Regions from separate parts of the Homo sapiens genome. Here all the other regions are linked to region 1. The links are contacts of gene promoters, found by promoter capture Hi-C in blood cells and fetal thymus (Javierre and others, 2016). All regions are on one chromosome and are shown on one strand. Each heading gives the region's core, a stretch centred on a gene start or on the middle of the fragment in contact. The rest is flanking DNA. Distances are from core to core; before and after follow the strand shown. Region 1 holds the start of TSFM (Ts translation elongation factor, mitochondrial). Region 2 holds the start of OS9 (OS9 endoplasmic reticulum lectin). Region 3 overlaps LOC283387 (a long non-coding RNA gene).

Region 1 (4,596 bases), core at 631-3,130:
CCTCAGGTGATCCGCTTGCCTCAGCCTCCCAAAGTTCTGAGATTACAGGCATGAGCCACCACGCCCAGCCAAAAAAAGTTTAAAATTTTAAAAACAGAAAAAAGCTCACAGAAAAAGTGCATAAAGAAAAATATTTTGGTACAGCTGTACAATATGTGTTTTATGCTGTTATTACAAAAGAGTCCAAAAATTTAAAACATGTTAAAAGTTTATAAAATAAAAATGTTACATTAAACTAAGGTTAACTTATTATCACAGAAAAAAATTTCTTATAAATGTAATGTAGCTTATGTGTACTGTGCTTTAACGTCTACTATAGTGCACCATAGTGTCCTAAGGCAGGCCTTCATATTCACTCACCACTCACTGACTCACCCAGAGCAACTTCCAGTCCTGCAAGCTCCATACATGATAAGTTCCCTATGGAGATGTATCGTTTTTTATCTTTTATGCCTATTTACTGTACTTTTTCTATGTTTAGATACACAATACTTACCACTGTGTTACAACTGCCTACAGTATTCAGTCCAGTAACATTTTGTAACGGTTTGTAGCCTAGGAGCAGCTGGCAATTCCATATAGCCCAGGTTGTAGTACAATATACCATCTAGGTTTGTGTAGGTACTCTATGATGTGCATAAGCCAAAATCTCCTAACGACGCCATTTCTCAGAATGTATCTTCCTATTAAGAGACGCATGACCGTACAGGCAAAAACTACACAACTCTGAAAGATTAAGATGTCTAAAGTCAGCCGGGCGCGGTGGCTCACTCCTGTAATCCCACCACTCTGGGAAGCCGAGGCGGGCGGATCACCTGAGGCCAGGAGTTCGAGACCAGCCTGGCCGACACGGCGAAACCCCATCTCTACTAAAAATACAAAAAAAAATAAAAAATAAAAAATAAAATAGCCGGGTGTCGTGGCGCACGCCTGTAATCCCAACTACTCAGGAGGCTGAGGCAGGAGAATCGCTTGAACCCGGGAGGCGGAGGTTGCAGTGAGCCAACATCGTGCCATTGCACGCCGGCCTGGGCCACAGAGCAAGACTCCGTCTGAAAAAAAAAAAAAAAGTCTAAAGTCAGACAGTGTGGGGGCCCCACAATTTGACTCCTGAACAATCTGACTCCAAAGCTCACACAAACCCTTTCAGCTCCAGGCAACAAGAAACACCGTAACAGTCTGGTTTGTTAATCCTGGGATACTCAACTGCTTTCAAATAAGACAAAGTCAAGGCCAAGGTTGTCATTTAAGCCAGATTTCCACTTAGGACTGTGCCATTATGGTCACTGAAGAGCAGTCTAACTTTATGCTCCCCAGCGTGACCGCCCCAAGAGTCTGAGGTCGAGCTCTAGTACTCCGCCCTGCACCCCTCCACACACACACCTGTTTGAGGTCCCCGCCACAAGTCTCCAGAGCTTTCTTGCAATTTACAAAGGAGTAGCCTGTTTTCCGCCGCAGCTTCATGAGGAGCTCCTTGCTGGAGGCCGAGGCAGACAGACGGGGCCCAGCATAAAATGTGTGCCTTGGCTGGGGCGACTGACGCAGAAGAGACCCAGCCTAGATGAGATAAGAAAGGGATGAGGAGCAGGAAGCAGCAAACTCCAGAGGGTGAAGGGTACACGGGCAGGGAAGCGACCTTAGGGAGCGGACAGTGTGCAAAGGGGGGTGCACCGGGGCTGGACTGGGCAGAGGCAATGCTGTCGGGGAAGGTGAGATGGAGTCAAACGAGGTTGGGAGGAAGGGAAAGGTACAGGCGCACAGGAGAGCTGCAGGGACAGCAGGTCGGTACCAGCACCAGGACTTCTCACCGGGTAGCTCCCGGTCCGCGCGACCAGAAACACGCGCAGCGACCGCAGCAGCGACATCTCTCTAGCCGCGATAAACACCCTCCGGCGGGCGCACTGGTGAGGCAACAAACCTACGGCGCGGCGGAAGGGCCAGAATTCTCCAGCGGAACGCACCAAACGAGTATGGTGCCACCTGCTGGCCGGAGGAACACAGTCCTCGCCTCTACTTGATTTCTTGAGACGACACATTTCATACGGGAATTACCCCCCACCTCCCACCCCAGGTAAAATAACAGAAACCAAGAAATAAAGTCGTCACAAAACAACAACACAAGAAATGTGGGTAACATTTTATGTTTATTTTCAATGCGCATTTATATTCATTATCCATTTATGACTCACAACAAACTTGTGTGGTTGGTGAATGGGTTCGAGAATTTGTCCAAGGTCACCTAGGAAGGCAGGGGTGGAATCCATTAAACAAAGCGAGTAAATATTTATTGAATGAGCACAATATCTGTTGAACACCTGTTGTGTGCCAGGAACTGTGTTAGGCTTCAGGGGTTTAGACAGGAGTAAACCACAGCCCTACCCTCCAAGGTAATTTAATGGTGAGAAAATGAGAATCACAAATGTCCATGCAAGACAAATTAAGGTCCCATAAGATGAACCTTATGGGTCTCAGGGAGAAAGAAATCACATTCAAGCAAGAGGCTCAGGAAAGAGGCAAAGAATAATGAAGATTTTGACAGGTGGCAATAGCCTTTCAGGCAGAGGATTATCATAAAGAGTGTGAAAGAAGTCAGAAAACTTTAGTGTGGTTTTAGAGAACAAAGAGTACATCTTTTGTAATTTGGCCAGAGGTCCAATACACGTAGCAAAGGAGTAGGAAATGCAATAGGAAGGTAATTTTGGATCACATGGACACAGACTAAGTACCAAGCAGAGGAGCTTGTTCTTGCTTCTACAGGAAGTGAAAGCTAATCAGAGCTAATTTTGGAAGATCACAAGAGTTTGCGGAATGGACTGAAGGAGAAAGCATGGAAGCAGGGAGTCCAGAGAAGGTGACTATGTGCCTAAGCAGTAAGTAAAGAGAGCCCCAACCAGAAGTACCAATGTGGGAAGAGAAAAGAGGTTAAGGCAAAACACATTAGGAACTGTGTTAGGCTTCAGGGGATTAGAGATTAGGAAGGAAGGACTGATGAAGCTAAAGAAAAATCAAAGATGAAAAGAACTTAGTACTAGGTACAGTATTCTTCTGCACACAATGATGTTCCGTGATCAAGGCTCTAACTCTGGAAAGCATGAAGAAATACAGTCCAAAGGACAGCTCTGCAGCCTTAGCTTCAGAGCTAGGAGGACTTGACCCAGTTAGAGCCATGGTTCCACTAGACTCTATCTCTAAAAAGCAGGAAATGGGTGGTTTGAGGCTTCTTCCTTCTCAGCTCCTGAGTAAAAGTTGGGTTCTTGCACAATAGATTTTTAAGGCTTAATTCTTTCTTAAAAAAAAAAAAAAATCCTAGGCTAGCACAGTGGGCCATGCCTGCAATCCCAGCACTTTGGGAGGCAAGGCGGGTGGATCACTTGAGCCCAGGAGTTTGAGACCACCCTGGGCAACATGGCGAAACCCTGTCTCTACTGAAAATACAAAAATTAGCCGGGTGTGGTGGCGCATGCCTCTAGTCCCAGCTACTTGGGGAGCTGAGGCAGGAAGATCATCTGGGCCTTCAGAGGTTGAGGCTGCAGTGAGCTGTGATCACACCACTGCACTCCAGCCTGGATGACAGAGTGAGACCCTGTCTCAAAAAAAAAGAAAAAAAGAAAAAAAAATCCCACAGAATTTTTTTAAAGTCCATTCTGTGTAAACAGCAACAGGAATGGAAGTGATCAGTGACAGTCTGTCTACAATCACTGCTCTCACATCCCATATATCTCCCTTACCCCCTAAAAATCCTGGATACCTTACCATCCTCCTTCTCTGAGAACAGGAGCCAGGAACCTCCTTGGTGTTCTAACACTAGTGCTGCCAGAACTCTGGGATTCCTTGTAAGCAGGCACCTCACTGCACCTGCCCAAGAGTATCTGGGGTAACAAAGAGGGAAGGAGGAAAGTGAGAGAGGCCAGGGAAATCCATCCTTTTTGGTCCTCATGTTTGTGGCTCTGGAAATATGGTTTTTGAGATACACAGTTCCTTCATTAGAGCAAGAGATTGAGAAGAACAGCAAGGGTGATGTCAAGCAGGTCTTGGTTCCCTGTGCCTGGCCCTATAGATGTTGACATTTTCATCCTCATCCCGCTGAGCCAGCTCCAGTTGGAAATGCTGGGGCAGGAGGTGCTGAAAGAAGCTCTCTGTCCCATGCTCCTTTCTCATCTTGGAGGCCAGATAGATGGTGCCATGGGGCCTGCACAGGTGTTGGAGGGTCCCCAGCAGCAGAGGGAAGGTGGGTTCCAGGTACACGATATCAGCCCCCAGCACCAGGTCATAGTTTGCAGGGAAGACATGATGGTCAATCCCCCAGGACAAGGCACGCACCTGGGCCTGGCCTCCAGCTGGCACATTGGCCTGGACGTTGCCCTGGATCTGTTCTAGGGCCAGGGGCAGGTCAGTGATGGTAACATCCCCCCCTGAGAGAGAGGAAGGAGGAAAAATGCAAGTCAGAGGAACCAACCAAGGGTTCTTGGCTCCTGCCTGGAAGGTCCAGAGACCTCAGAGCATAGAGGACAATGTCTTGACAGCCCAGAGCCCACACTGGCTTTTAGTTGCCTCAACCTCCATTTCACCCACTGCTATTCTCATTACTCTACATTC
Region 2 (4,524 bases), core at 1,476-3,975, 89 kb after region 1:
GGCGTGAGCCACCGTGCCCGGCCTGGAAATAATGTGGGTTTTTTTTTTTCTTTTCTTTTTTGAGACAGAGTCTCACTCTGTCACCCAGGTTGGAGCACAGTGGCACGACCTCGGCTCACTGCAACGTCCGCCTCCCAGGTTCAAGCAATTCTCCTGTCTCAGCCTCCCGAGTAGCTGGGCCTATAGGCACCCGCTACCACGCCCGGCTAATTTTTGTATTTTTAGTAGAGATGGGGTTTCACCATATTGGTCAGGCTGGTCTTGAACTCCTGACCTCAGGTGATCTGCCCGCCTCGGCCTCCCAAAGTGCTGGGATTACAGGCATAAGCCACTGCGCCCGGCTGGAAATATGTTTTAAACTTTGGATTTAGGGTCTGGGAGGGGACCCCCCCCGCCCCCGCCCCGACTATAAGATGCAACCCTCTTCCCTTAGAATCTGAACTGTCCCTGTGGGAGTGTCAACTTCCCTCTCTCAAGACTCACCCGAACCTCGGCCTCCCGGGGCCTCCCATTAAGGTCGCACTTGGACCCATTGCCATAGGTCTGGCTGTGGTAGCGTTTAAGACGATGCTGCTTGGAGGCCTGGAGAAGACATGAGGCAGGAATGGGGGACATGAGAAAGATAGCAAAGAGGAAGGATGGCACTGCGTCCCCAAAGAGACAAAAGAATGGCCTGTGCCCCCAGGCCCCAGGAAACTTTGTCCTAATGGCCACCAAGCCCCAAGAAACAGATCAGCTAATCTTGACCCTCCCCTTCTTGTCAGGGCTCTCAGCCGGTGGCCAGAACCCTTTCTTCCTGAATCCCACACTCTTGCCACCTTGGCTGTTTCATCATCCCAGTCGAAGGCTGATTGGTAGTAGCCGAGATAGAGGACTTCACCTTTGATCTCTGAATCTGCAAGGGAAGCCACAGTGAAGCACTGTTACTCTTAAGAGGAGGAGGAGGAGGAGGGAACTGGGGAACTTCCATGATATGACACTAAGGGCTTAAGGAAAATATAGGAGTGAGTTACCTTCCATGTGGTATTGCTGGATGTGGCGTCCATAACAGAATTCATATGTCCACCAGTCCTTTGTCTGACAATTAAAAAATAAACAATCAGGGGGATGGAGTGCAGACATCTTTTCTTGGAACCAGAGTCTCCTGGCTCCAAGACACATAACCTCTCATCTACTTACACACTCAATTCTCTTCCCTTCACTTCCACTCTCAATTCTCCAGACTTTCAGTAAGGAGGGAGGGCTGCTTTCCTTCTGTGACTTGGAGAGATATCTCTAAAGTCTGTTTTCCACTTGTGGTCTTTCCATTCCTCCCTTTTAAAAGATTTTTTAAATCCTTATTTGCCCTCCATAAAGATAAGAAATTATGGTATCCCTGAAGCAATTATATTAGGGAAACATAGAAGAACCCAAAATTAAATATTAATTGAACTTCTTGAACATTCCTGGCACTGTTCTGGCCACTGGGAATACAACTGTGAACAAGATTAATTCTTTGACCTCATGGAGTTTACACTCTAATGCGGGGAATCAGACCGAAAATAAACAAACTGATTCAGTAAATATGATTTCAGATCATGAAAAGTGCTACGATGAAAATAAAACAGGATACTGGAGCAGAGTGATAGGGCAGGGGGTGACTTTAGCAAGTAGGCTTAAGGAAGTACTCCTCCTACCCCACGCAGACCCTCAATCTTGCTTTAGCCCTTTTCTGAGATCTTCTATCCTAACCTGCTCCTACGTTCAGCAAAGTGTCATCAGTGGTTGCAGGATTCTTTGCTTCTTTCCTGTCCGTGTAATCTGTCTACTCCTCCAGTGGTCTTCTTAACCACTACAGGTCCCCTAGATCCTGCCTCATTCAGTGGACTCCAGTTCTTGGATGAACTGCTAGTTTCCAAGCCCTCATTCTATCTAACCCAGTCCCTTTCACCTTCAGCAAGCAGGGAGCATCTCTCATTGGGCTCAACAACTCAGGGATCCCAGGCCCTTGGTAAGCAGGTGTTTCCTCCTCCCTTTCACGCTGGAAGTGAATAGCTCCAGCTGGCAGGCGACACTCATAGCGCTGTTTGTACTTAGAGGAGACAATCACCACGTCCGAAGATTGGCTCTGGGAAAGAAGGGAGGGTCGGGGGGCAAGGAAGCAAAGAAAGGCTGGGATCAGGGAGAACAACGAAATCCCTCTTCAAACCCTGGGGAAGAGATCAGTCGAAGACAGAATAAGCCATAAGCCCTCCAGCTGTATTTAGTGGGTGAGAGGAGAGGGCGCTCCCATTTCTCCACGGGGGCGGAGTCCGGGTGTTTCGATCATAAACTGAGACCTGAAGGTTGACAGCGGGAAGCCCCACCTCTCCCAATTCCTGGCCCCCAGAGAATTGGTCTCAGTCTGCGACCCCCAGGGGTCACCGTAAAAGCAATACCTACTCTTCCCGATTCCCCGTAGGCTCCAGCCCCAGACTCCGGAGCTGCCCTTCTTCCTCTATCTCTTACCCGCTTCCTCTTCTGCCCAGACCCTCGCCCCTTATACGCCTCTCACCTGCCCTCCCATGACAGGCAACGGCAGGATCTCGATCCCATAACGCATCTCACTCAGCTCCTCCAGGTTCAGGCTCCCGACACCGCCGGTCAGACTTGCGGGTAACAGGAGTCCCAGAAGCAGCAGTCCTAACAAACTGGACAGCAGCGTTTCCGCCGCCATCTTTCGTTCCCCTTCTTATGCAGAGAATCTGTTTCCGCCCTAAGCCAGGCAGCGGCCTCAACACGCCCATCGGCGCCACATGATTTTATTGGCTGTACGTTCTATCCCTCCCACGTACCCTATTCCTATTTGTAAACGTGGCTCCAAGGTCCTGGGGAGGTGGATCACGACGATTAGAAATATCAATCGCTGTCCGTGATTGGTCAGAGACCAGCCAATCATCGACAAGATCAAACCCCTCCTCGTTCCCCAATTTCAGAGGCGTGGTCTATGCGCTTGGTCCTTTTAAGTTTGCCCTCTGTCTTCGCCCAGCTGTCATGCGCATCTCATTGCTTTTTCAGACGTCTCTTGCATTATATCCTGCCCACCGCCGGGCGGAGTATTGAGGCAGATAGGTAGCGTGCGCAGTGCCGGTGAAAGTTATTAAATGCTTGTTGCAAAACAAACAATTATTATACGGACGCTTACCTCTTTTCATATATACATATTGCTTTGAGGCAATCAGAAAATTTGTGTCAAAACCTTCCTATACGATCCTGCAGTTGACCTCCAGTAAAATGACCTCCAGTAAAAATCCTAGAGAAATAATGCGGGCAGCCAGACGTGGTGGCACGCACCTGTGGTATCAGCTACTCCGGAGGCTGAGGCAGGAGGATCTCCTGAGCCCAGGAGTTCAAGTGCAGCCTGCGCAACACAGCGAAACCCCGTCTCAAATAAGTACGTACATACATACATACATACATACATACATACATACATACATACATGCATACATGGGCTTCCAGTTAAGGTGAAATTATGTATTACTCTCCAGGCCGTAAGAAAGGGAAAGGAGACAACAACAGCAACATTTTGGAAGCTGGAAATCAAACAGAAGAATGTTAACTGGTTTAGCAAACTTGAGAATATTTATTACGAAACAAAGGTAAACAAGAGGCTGATTATACCTTTGGAAAACCCTCTCTGGGGAATCTCACCAGCCAAAACGAAAAATCCCAAAGATACCCTTATCAGAGTTCTCTTAATGATATAGATAACTAGAATGAATTCCACATGTAACACTTTGGCCTACGTGCCCCAGCCCTCATTCCACTTTCCAATCAGCTTTTTAGTGTTCTTACTCTTCAAAATAAATAGCCAGAGATCATTAGACATTTAAGGAAGGACTTTAATATACAAGTAAGAAACAAACAAGAAGGGAAAAGCAAATGAGAGGAAACATAAATTGCAAGGGAGGGGAAAAAACACTAAAAATAAAAAATTTAAAAATAGGCCGGGCACGGTGGCTTACGCCTGTAATCCCAAAACTGTGGGAGTCCGAGACGGGCGGATCACTTGAGGTCAGGAGCTCAAGACCAGCCTGGCTAACGTGGTGAAACCCCGTATCTACTAAAAATACGAAAATTAGCTGGGCATGGTGGCACGCGCCTATAGTTCCAGCTACTCAGGAGGCTGAGGCAGAAGAATTGATTGAACCTGGGAGGCGGAAGTTGCAGTGAGCTGAGATTGCGGCACTGCATTCCAGCCTGGGCCACAGAGCTAGACTCCGTCTGAAACAACAAAGCATTTAAAAATAATCCATCATCAGACTTCTCAAAGAGATATTATAGAGCATTCATAAAATAACAACAGGAAACTACTTGAGAGTAACTACTATTCGGATAAGCAAAAAGAGCTCTTGGAAACTAAAACCATGTTACAGAAATAAAAATTCTATAAAAAGGCTGGGGGATAAAGTTGAAGAAGATCAAATTTGTTCTGCTTTAGGAGAAAACATAAAAATAAAGGATCAGTCCAGAAGGTCTGGACTAAATAAGAGTTCTAAATTA
Region 3 (4,154 bases), core at 157-2,656, 98 kb before region 1:
ATTCAAGGTGCCAGAAAAGTGTCACTGCTTCACTAAGGCTTTCAGAATACTCCCTGTCCTAAGGTGAGATGGAGGAAAGAAAATAAACATGGAAAAGCTTAGTAAACACTCTCCCCAGGGTTTGTCACATTCTCTACCTCCCACAGATGTGTCCAGAACTCTCTGACTATACAAGGGACACTGACAGAGGATCCCAGGCACACTCACTGCCAGGTCAGTGTCTGGACAAAGCAATCCTAATAGAGCCAAGGCAGAATTAAACATGATCAAGAAGTAAGGGAGCAGGGACTCAGGGCAAATCAGTTCCTGGAATCATAGTCTGCTTACTTCCCAAAACCACCTTGGTTCCAGAAACCCATGCTTTTCAGGTCTAATAGACAAGGCTGTGCTGAGCTCTCAGTCTGGGCCCTACACAGTGCACAGATACTATCAGGACAAAATGAGTCCTGCTGATCATCCCTAAAGAATTTAATACTAGGCCAGGCGCCGTGACTCATGCCTGTAATCCCAGCACTTTGGGAAGCCGAGGCCGGCGGATCACGAGGTCAGGAGTTCGAGACCAGCCTGACCAATGTGGTGAAACCCCGTCTCTACTAAAAATACAAAAACTAAAAACATATATATATATTAGCCGGGTGTGGTGGCATGGGCCTGTAATCCCAGCTACTGGGGAGGCTGAGGCAGGAGAATTGCTTGAACCCAGGAGGCAGAGGTTGCAGTGAGCCGAGATCATACCACTGCACTCCAGCCTGGGCAACAGAGCGAGATTCCGTCTCAAAAAAAAAAAGTAATAATTTCCTTCAATGCAGTGTTTCCCAAAGCGGGGCTCCCTGGCCACCCACATGTGGATCATCAAGGATATTTGTTAATAATGCAGATCCCCAAGCCCAATCCCAGATGGAAGGAATCAGATTCTTTGGGGATGAAGCCCAATAATCTGTATTTTTAATAAACGTCTTCTGTACACAAAAGTGTGAGAACCACTGTTTTAATGTTCACAGAAGACATTAAAGCAGTGGTTCTGTGAAGACAAATTCGTTGTGCTTTGGGACCTGAGAATTATGTTAGGAGTTGAAGTCTCTAGCCATTGTCATCTGAGCTTGAAGTTTCTTTGTGGGCTTCAAGTTTATTTGCTTCTGGTTGATTCTATGAGCTAGTATATGAAACCAGAGCTCCCCTTGAGACAGAGTTTCATTCTTGTTGCCCAGGCTGGAGTGCAATGGCATGATCTCGGCTCCCTGCAACCTCCACCTCCCAGGTTCAAGGAATTTTCCTGCCTCAGCCTCTCGAGTAGCTGGGATTACAGGTAGGCGCCACCAAGCCCAGCTAATTTTTGTATTTTTAGTAGAGATGGGGTTTCTCCATGGTGGTCAGTCTGGTCTAGAACTCCCGACCTCAGGCGATCCGCCCGCCTCCGCCTCCTAAAGTGCTGAGATTACAGGCGTGAGCCACCGCGCCCGGCCAAAACCAGAGCTCTTTGTGAGACTAGTCTTTGAGTCTGGAGTCTGGCCTGGGTATTTCTTTCACTAAGCAAATAGGTCTTAGTTCTCTTCCCAAATACCCAGCCTTACGTTTAGTCTCAAACTGTACCTTTGAACAACTTGAAGAAACTGCCTGGGAGGCACTCTAAATCTGGTCGTTGCCAATAGGCTGTGTCCCACTTACATCTGTCATGGAAGTTATGGTCACCTTTGTTTTAGGAGGAATAAAAAGCAGGAGGTGCTTGGGAAAGGGCTAGGGATAAGCCATCAACCATATCCCATATCCTATATCCCATATTCCATATCCTATAGCCCACATCCATATCCCATAGTCCATAGCCCATATCCCACATCCATAGCCCATATCTCATATCCCATATCCCACATCCATACCCCATATCTCATATCCCACAGCCCATATCCCATGTCCCATATTCCATATCCCATATCCCACATCCATAGCCCATATCCATATCCCATATCCATATCCCACATCCATAGCCCATAGCCCATATCCATATCCCACATCCATATCCCACATCAATATCCCATATCCCATATCCCACATCCATATCCCATATTCCATATCCCATATCCCACATCCGTAGCCCATAGCCCATATCCATATCCCACATCCATAGCCCATAGCCCATATCCATATTCCACATCCATATCCCATATCCCACATCCATATCCCATATGGCATAGCCCATATCCCATATCCATATCCCACATCCACATCCCATATCCCATATCCATATCCCACATCCCATATCCATATCCCACATCCATATCCCATAGCCTATATCCATATCCCATACCTCATATCCATGTCCCATAGCCCATATTCATATCCCATAGACCATATCCATATCCCATGTCCCATGTCCCATGTTCCATATCCCATATCCCATATCTTGTATCCCATATCCCATATCTCATATCCCATATCCCATACAATGCAATCCCCCATCCCTGTTTCTGTTCACATTAGGTTAGTGCAAAAGTAATTGCAGTTTTGCAATTCTTTTCGATGGCAAAAAACGCAATTACTTTTGCACTAACCTAATACTAACATACCTTGGGACAAAGTTTTCAGGGCTTTCTAGTCCTCTCAGCCATTTTTTTTTTTTTTTTTTTTTTTTTTTACCGTAGGCAGAAAGGGCTTCTCTTATCAAAGCTGTATTTTCTTCCTTCTCTGTTTTGGGGTAAGCTAGTTTGAACATAAGCTTACCCTTTTTTTTTTTTTTTTTTTTTGAGACGGAGTCTCGCTCTGTCACCCAGGCTGGAGGGCAGTGGCATGATCTCAGCTCACTGCAACCTCCACCTCCTGGGTTCAAGAGATTCTCCTGCCTCAGCCTCCCGAGTAGCTGGGATTACAGGTGTGCACCACCATGCTGGGCTAATTTTTGTATTTTTCGTAGAGACGGGGTTTCACCATGCTGATCAGGCTGGCCTCGAACTCCTGACCTCGTGATCCGCCCACCTTGGTCTCCCAAAGTGCTGGGATTACAGGCGTGAGCCACTGCACCAGGCCAGCAACTTACCTTTTTACAGTACTTTATTAATATTAACAAGAAGGAGCCAACCCAATCCAACACTCTACATTTTTCTACTAAGTAGTGTACCGCTACAGCCGCAGATTGTGTAATCTGCACCCCAAGTCACAACAGGAAACTGTATAGCTAATTAGATGGCCAATTTCTCAGCCGAAAATGTAGGGGTTCTTTATCCTTCATCTTACTTCTTTGGTTGGACAATCCCATTTTTAGGGCCTGTCTCTTGAAACACCTTATGGAACTCATTTCTGTATCAGTTAGGAATCTTTAGGTTGCAGTAAACCAATCTCCAATTCAACTGGTTTAAACAATATGGAGAATTTATTGGCTCAATTTACTGTGAAGTCCAGAGGAAGAGGTGGCTTTAAATAAGGCTTGAGGCCAGGCGTGGTGGTCATGCCAATAATCCCAGCAATTTGGGAGGCCAAGGTAGACAGATTGCTTGAGCCCAGGAGTTTGAGACCAGCCTGAGCAACATAGCGAGACCCCGTCTCTACAAAAAAAATTTTAATTAGCTGGGCACAGTGACATGCATCTGTGGCCCCAGCTACTCAGGAGGCTGAGGAGGGAGGATCACTTGAGCCTTTGAGGTCAAGGCTGCAGTGACTGTAATCACACCACTGCAGTCCAGACTGGGCAACAGAGTAAGACCCTATCTCAAAAAAAAAAAGTAAAAAGTAAATAAGGCTTGATCCAAAAGTTCATACAACGTTACCATGAAGTCAGTTCCCCCCCTTCTCTCTCTGCCTTTCATGGCATCATCATGTTTCATATAGTGGTCTTCCAACAGCTCCAGATTTTCCCATAACAGTCATGGCATGGCTATAGCAATTCACACCTTACATCTTCATACTAGTAGCTGCTATAAAAGTCCTGAGACTCACATTCTCTCACTCACTTAAAATGGATCAAGTGCCCATCCCTGAACCAGCCACTGTGGTCAGTGCACTAATTAACTTAGCAATGGTTGGGAAGAAGAGCTCATCACACCCAAATCACATGGTTGAAGATGTGAAATCCTCTAAAGGAAAACCATGACTATGGCAGCAGGCAGGGAACAGACACTGGCGAGGCACCCAACAAGGGGTTTGTAGCCAAATAGCCAAAAATGAGT

What was found. Contacts are between HindIII fragments. The CHiCAGO score rates a contact against its expected background, and 5 or more counts as called.
Region 2: a contact is called between the fragment with the promoter of OS9 here and the fragment with the promoter of TSFM in region 1, in 2 of 17 cell types (naive B cells and neutrophils). The highest score is 6.1, in naive B cells.
Region 3: a contact is called between a fragment that was not itself captured here and the fragment with the promoter of TSFM in region 1, in 15 of 17 cell types (naive CD4 T cells, naive CD8 T cells, total CD4 T cells and 12 more). The highest score is 12.8, in naive CD4 T cells.

The regions. Positions count from the first base shown.
Region 1 is chr12:57,780,071-57,784,666 of GRCh38, reverse strand. TSFM (Ts translation elongation factor, mitochondrial) reads right to left here and starts at 1,880. Exons shown (of 6, transcript NM_005726.6): 1 at 1,809-1,880; 2 at 1,384-1,557. The coding sequence starts at 1,865. EEF1AKMT3 (EEF1A lysine methyltransferase 3) reads right to left here. Exons shown (of 3, transcript NM_015433.3): 3 at 2,126-4,412. The coding sequence ends at 4,021. RefSeq lists enhancers at 1,827-1,896, 1,250-2,119. The HindIII fragment of the contact is 6,425 bases long and covers 1-4,596 here.
Region 2 is chr12:57,692,333-57,696,856 of GRCh38, reverse strand. It overlaps OS9 (OS9 endoplasmic reticulum lectin), which reads right to left and starts at 2,725. Exons shown (of 15, transcript NM_006812.4): 1 at 2,534-2,725; 2 at 1,931-2,107; 3 at 1,014-1,077; 4 at 819-895; 5 at 484-582. The coding sequence starts at 2,695. RefSeq lists enhancers at 2,485-2,534, 2,522-3,096. The HindIII fragment of the contact is 11,057 bases long and covers 1-4,524 here.
Region 3 is chr12:57,877,563-57,881,716 of GRCh38, reverse strand. All of the region lies in intron 1 of LOC283387 (a long non-coding RNA gene), which reads left to right. The region is part of intron 1 of LOC124902948 (a long non-coding RNA gene); the gene reads right to left. Among named protein-coding and RNA genes, the nearest start is that of CTDSP2, 33 kb to the right of the region's middle. The HindIII fragment of the contact is 2,613 bases long and covers 100-2,712 here.